2 separate regions of the Homo sapiens genome follow, and region 2 is linked to region 1. The links are contacts of gene promoters, found by promoter capture Hi-C in human tissues and cell types (Jung and others, 2019). All regions are on one chromosome and are shown on one strand. Each heading gives the region's core, a stretch centred on a gene start or on the middle of the fragment in contact. The rest is flanking DNA. Distances are from core to core; before and after follow the strand shown. Region 1 holds the start of PAX9 (paired box 9). Region 2 overlaps SLC25A21 (solute carrier family 25 member 21).

What was found. Contacts are between HindIII fragments. The study calls those that stand out against the background at their distance.
Region 2: a fragment that was not itself captured here is called in contact with the fragment with the promoter of PAX9 in region 1 in 2 of the 25 tissues and cell types used here (mesendoderm cells and thymus).

The regions. Positions count from the first base shown.
Region 1 is chr14:36,660,258-36,663,303 of GRCh38, forward strand. It overlaps PAX9 (paired box 9), which reads left to right and starts at 1,603. Exons shown (of 4, transcript NM_001372076.1): 1 at 1,603-1,836; 2 at 2,640-3,046. The coding sequence starts at 1,833. RefSeq lists a promoter at 337-1,534, a cis regulatory region at 794-1,306 and enhancers at 2,071-2,582, 2,583-3,046. The HindIII fragment of the contact is 9,466 bases long and covers 1-1,687 here.
Region 2 is chr14:36,712,590-36,715,635 of GRCh38, forward strand. All of the region lies in intron 6 of SLC25A21 (solute carrier family 25 member 21), which reads right to left. Among named protein-coding and RNA genes, the nearest start is that of PAX9, 52 kb to the left of the region's middle. The HindIII fragment of the contact is 4,626 bases long and covers 1-3,046 here.

The DNA of each region.
Region 1 (3,046 bases), core at 353-2,852:
CACCCAACAGGTATTGGAGGTCAGACCAGGCTGAAATTGCTATCAAGTCAAACTTCAAGAAGATTTTAAACATTTGAAACCAACCAACAAAAAGGGACAAGTTCAAGTATGTCTAGTTGTGGGATTTCCCCCAAGATTCCGATTCTAAAGAGTGGTGTTTTAGTTCATCTTTACCTTTCACATCCTCCATTCTGTTAGGTAATTTTGAATTTAGAGTGCATCCTAACCATAGAAGTGGGAATCTGGAGATCTGTTCCTTTGCAGAAGCATGGCTGATCATAGTTTTTTCCTGGGTTCTTGCAACTTACTGACCTGAGATCTGGGACCAGTCAGCTTCTCTGGGTGTAGACCGCAGCCACACACATCCCTGGGGACTGTTGGGGAAGCAGCCTGAATCCTGTGTGCACAAGGAGCCTTCTGGATTGTCAAGTAGCAGTAACAGAGTTCACGACCCCAAGCAGTACAAACTCCCAAATTCACGAAAATATTTCTCTTCTTGTTTATTATTTTGATTCACATTCTCCACAACCCTAACTGCAAATATTAATAACTTTGGCTGCAAAAAAGCATACGGTACACTTTAGATTAGACTTACAGTGAATAAAAGTGAAAATTCAGAAGTAGGCAGAACGACAGGGCCTCTGGAGCTTAATGGAAGACGAGGGAATTACATCCATGTGCAGCGTCGGTGTCCACTGTCTTGGGACTAAGTCTCTTTCATATTTAAACAAAACTCTTTCGAGAGGGCTCGCTGGTTTGGAGAACCCTCACAAACGCTGCCACCGAGGGCCAGGGGCCCAGGACAGTGGCTGAATGTGGCAGAGCCTTGGGCTCCGTAGTGAGTGCCCCACGCACTGGCAATTGGTCGACTTGGGGCTGTGCGCTAGCGTTAGCCGCCTGTGGTTCAGTTCCCCGCACACGGCGTGGCCCGTGCCTCGAGCCTGTGTGGCTAGTGGTTGGCCGGTCCACCTGGACTGGGGGGTCGCCGCAGGAAGCTGGCGGTAGGAGGAACCTCCCTGGCCTTAACAGTGGCCCCCACCTGTGGCTCGGGCTCCCCGCAACCTCCTGGTTTCTTTGGCCGGCCTATCTTCTCACACCTGCGCTCTCGCCACCTGGCATGGACTGAAGTGAGGTAGAATCGGCAGGTGACACAGATCCTCTCCTGACAGTCCCCAGAGGCCCGCATGACAGATTTTGCTAAGACAACTCCCTCACCCCTGTGCACGGTGGCGCCCGCCTCCCACCTATAGCCTTAACTTCAATTCTGAGATGTCCATCGTTCCCCGGAGGAGGTCTCCTCGGGCCCCTTCTCCCTTCGAGTCATTCACATTCAGACCAAACGCTTTCATTTGTTTATTCAGCATTTTACCAGCCTGATTTTGCTGTCTTTTTGTGCCGCTTCTGGGAAGATGTCAAACACCCATTTTCATTGTATTTAGTCACCCAGGTGGGGAGCTAGCCTGAAAGAGACAGCGGAAGGAGTTTCCTGGACTGCGCTGTCGCTCACCGACCCGCACCAATCACCATGCAGCTTGCCCTCGGACCCGCCCCTTTTAGGGCGTGTCCCCAGTGAGTGATAGACGGAGCCGCCCTGCCCTGCTCAGCCCAGCCCACGTTGCTGCTTAGATTGAAATGCAGAACTCAAGCCTCTTTCATCGGGGCACAGACTTCCTTTTACTTCTTCCTTTTGCCCTCTCGCCTCCTCCTCCTGGGAAGAAGCGGAGGCGCCGGCGGTCGGCCGGGATAGCAACAGGCCGGGCCACTGAGGCGGTGCGGAAAGTTTCTGTCTGGGAGTGCGGAACTGGGGCCGGGTTGGTGTACTGCTCGGAGCAATGGGTGAGTGGCGGCGGGGGACTCTGTCAGAGCCGGGAAGGGAGGGAGGGAGCGAGCGGGCAAGGGAGGGAGGGAGGGAGGGAGCGCGAGGGCGCGCGCCACTAGGCGCTCACATTCTCTATTGACTTTGCTCGTGTTCCTACAAGTTGTAGGAACACGCTAAGGGTCAGCGGCGCACAGCAGTTCAATGTGAACGCTGGCTACTGGGTGGCTGTTGATGCCATTTTCTGATTTTAAGAGAAGGGAGCTGTGGCATCAGCGAGCCCCTCAGCCCGAGTAGCAAACCAAGTTTTGTTTCACACGCGCGCACACATGCAAACAAAACAGGAAAAGAAAAGAAAAGAAAACAAACAACAACAAATAAAACACCCTCTAGCTTCCCCTAGACTTTGTTTAACTGGCCGGGTCTCCAGAAGGAACGCTGGGGATGGGATGGGTGGAGAGAGGGAGCGGCTCAAGGACTTTAGTGAGGAGCAGGCGAGAAGGAGCACGTTCAGGCGTCAAGACCGATTTCTCCCCCTGCTTCGGGAGACTTTTGAACGCTCGGAGAGGCCCGGCATCTCACCACTTTACTTGGCCGTAGGGGCCTCCGGCACGGCAGGAATGAGGGAGGGGGTCCGATTGGACAGTGACGGTTTGGGGCCGTTCGGCTATGTTCAGGGACCATATGGTTTGGGGACAGCCCCAGTAGTTAGTAGGGGACGGGTGCGTTCGCCCAGTCCCCGGATGCGTAGGGAGGCCCAGTGGCAGGCAGCTGTCCCAAGCAGCGGGTGCGCGTCCCTGCGCGCTGTGTGTTCATTTTGCAGAGCCAGCCTTCGGGGAGGTGAACCAGCTGGGAGGAGTGTTCGTGAACGGGAGGCCGCTGCCCAACGCCATCCGGCTTCGCATCGTGGAACTGGCCCAACTGGGCATCCGACCGTGTGACATCAGCCGCCAGCTACGGGTCTCGCACGGCTGCGTCAGCAAGATCCTGGCGCGATACAACGAGACGGGCTCGATCTTGCCAGGAGCCATCGGGGGCAGCAAGCCCCGGGTCACTACCCCCACCGTGGTGAAACACATCCGGACCTACAAGCAGAGAGACCCCGGCATCTTCGCCTGGGAGATCCGGGACCGCCTGCTGGCGGACGGCGTGTGCGACAAGTACAATGTGCCCTCCGTGAGCTCCATCAGCCGCATTCTGCGCAACAAGATCGGCAACTTGGCCCAGCAG
Region 2 (3,046 bases), core at 295-2,794, 52 kb after region 1:
GTTTATATAGTAAATCCTATAGTCTTTGCTGATAAATGTTTTGAAGACTCTAGCTACAATTCTACACTCAACTTCATCCATTAATTTAAGGGAACTAATTACAATCAATTACAATAAGCTTAAGAAAACCCTCCTTTGTAATATGAAAAAACCATGGTAGAATACATCTTAAAACAATAAGACATATCATACAGGAAAACCAAAAAATTTTCTGAAGGTTAAAGTTTACTTTCTGTTTGACAACATGAGATTTTTTTGTGTTTCAGCACATTGACTTTCACCCCCAAATCATTATTTTTTGGTTTTCAAAAGAGATAGGACAAGTTGAGCAGAAACTCATTTTTGTTGGAAAGACCCTGGAAGTGCTGAGTAAACTGCCCAAGTACTGCTATCTTGCTTCAAGGAAGGCAGTCTAGAGGTGGGGGAAGGAGAGGGCAGCTTTCCTGGGGGTGGGAGGAACAGGACAGAGGTGAGGCTGCCTGACTAACACAGGTTCTCCCTGCACCCAACCTAAACCTTTTCTCCATCCTCACTCCTCTGAGGTCTTGAGGGCATGAGGGCGGAGGAGCTCCGAGGCCATCTAAGTTTTAGAGCAGCAGAGAAACCAACGGCTCTAAAATAAAGTGCAAATGACAATGGCTTTCCCTAAAAACATGGGTATAAAGATGTTTCTATTGTTTAAAAATCTTAGTTTGCTAAGTCATTAGAATTAGGATGACTAAACTAAGGATTAATTTGGATAGCATCTTTCTCATCATCTTGAAAAGAGATTTCTCCTAGATCTCGGTGAGAGCTGACAAATATTCAAGTGGCATTTGCTAATTGTCTGTTTCCTGATTTTCACTGGCTTGGGTGCTGTGTGTGTATAAGCAAATGTAATGCATCATTTTAAACTCAAGTGCTTTGTTGAGTTCGGACTCTAGTTGTCAGTAATTAATTGGAGAGTAGCATAGTAATTGGAAATAGGAGCTCAGAGCTAGACAGTTCCAAGTTTGAGTCTCAGCAATACCACTTGCTACTTTGGCAAGTATTTTATCCTCTCTGATTGATTCTCACTTTATTAATTTCTAAATTTCTAAATAAGGATAATGATAGAATCTTCCGGAGGTCAGTGGCTTCTGCAGTGGCTCAAACCTGTAATCTCAGCATTTTGGGAGGCGGAGGCAGGAGGAGTGCTTGAGCCCAGGAGTTCAAGACCAGCCTGAACAACATAGTAAGACCCAGTCTCTACAAAAAATTAAAAAATTAGCCAGGTGCTGTGGCAAGCCTGTGATCCCAGTTACTCAGGAGGCTGACTAAGGAGGCTGACGCAGGAGGATCACTTGAGGCCTGGAAGGTGAGGCTGCAGTGAACTGTTATCCTGTCACTGCATAGTGACAGGCTCCAGCCTGGATGACAGAGTGAAAGCAAGACCCTATCTCAAAACAAAAAAAGAAAAAAAAATCTTCCTCACAGGATTGTTGAGATTGTTGAAAGAAGTCAATGAACTTAGTCCACTGTAAACAACTTAGTCCATTCTAAGCATTCACTATACATTTAGGTGTTAACGATAATGGCAATTATGCTGACAATCATAAAAATAGTTATAACAATAAAATGACAGGTGATTTCTTTGTTAGTTGAAGGCAGTGGCAACCAAAAGCTGGAATCTGATTTGAGGGAGAGAAAGCTTCTTTTTTTCTTCATTCCTTCTGGCTGTCCTTTCCTTTTCCCAGAGTCCCAGACCTTTGTGATAAAGTCCACCAGAAATGCATGCAGAATGCAAGATAACAGGTCTGCTTCCTCTGAGACCCAACCAAATTCAATGCTTGGGGTAGAGATCTTGTTCCAGGTACAGTGCCTCACCCAGGAGCTTTCCTCTCTGGAGCAGTAAATCCTATAAATTGGCCTCTTCCTTATCCCTCAAGGTGAGTACCCTGGCTAAGATCTCTGCATATGGCAAGTCTGTGGGCTGTAGAAGTAAGGCCATACGGGAAGAAAGGCTGGCAATGGAAAAGCACATGAATTGGGCTTCCCCCTCTATATGGCTTTCCAGCCTAGAAAACACATTTGTATACGTGATCAGGTAGCTGGAACACAGGAAGTGCTCAACACCTTTAGCCATTATCATACGTGCTCAGTACTTTTTGGTGTCATTTAATCCTCTCAGTAATTGTGTGAGATATGTCTTATCATGATCCCTATTTGGCAGATAAGGAAACTAAGAGTTAGAAGTTAAGTTACTCACCCAAGATTACAGAGTAAGTGGTAACAACAGAGTTCCAACTGAGGTTCCTTGGACTCCAAATCTGTACTTTTACACTCTTGGTGGTTCTGCCATCCTAACATATCTGATTGCTTCTCTCAGCAACCTTGTAATGTGGGCAGCTGGTATATCTCATTTTTCAGGTGAGGAAACCAAAGATTGTTAGGCAACATGCCTAAGATAAAATGCTGCTGATAAATGGCTTAAGCAGAATTCTGCATCTAATCCAATGTTGTTCTTTACACACTCATTCTTATTGTACATAGGTAATAAGAGTTTCAGAGTTTGACAATCCAACTGATATAAGTAACAGATGCATAATAGTACAAATATATTTTTCTGGCAAATGGAGGCCTTGGGATAAAGAAAACCAGAACTCAATTGCCTATAAAAATAAGAAGTAATAGTATGATAGTGTGTTTTCTTTCTTCATTCAGGGACATTGTTTCACACATATGTAAGCAAATATTTAATTAGAAAGGCAAAACATGACTTCCACTAGGATGCTTAAATAGGAAAATATAGAATAATTTTGACTAGATATCTGTAAACACATGGAATTTTACTAAACTTATTTGATTATGGGGCTTCCATTTAAAAGCAAAATGGTAACTGATTAGCATCATCAGCCAAATGATTCCAATACTATCTAATCCAGCAGGTCACCCACTAGCTCAGTTTCCTTGTATTATTTAGATTCACTCCAATTTTCATATTTAGTTACCAATTGTGGGCCAAATTGCACTCTAACTTTCCTGGTTGTACCTTCATTGACTGCACCCAATCTGAAAAGCATGGAAG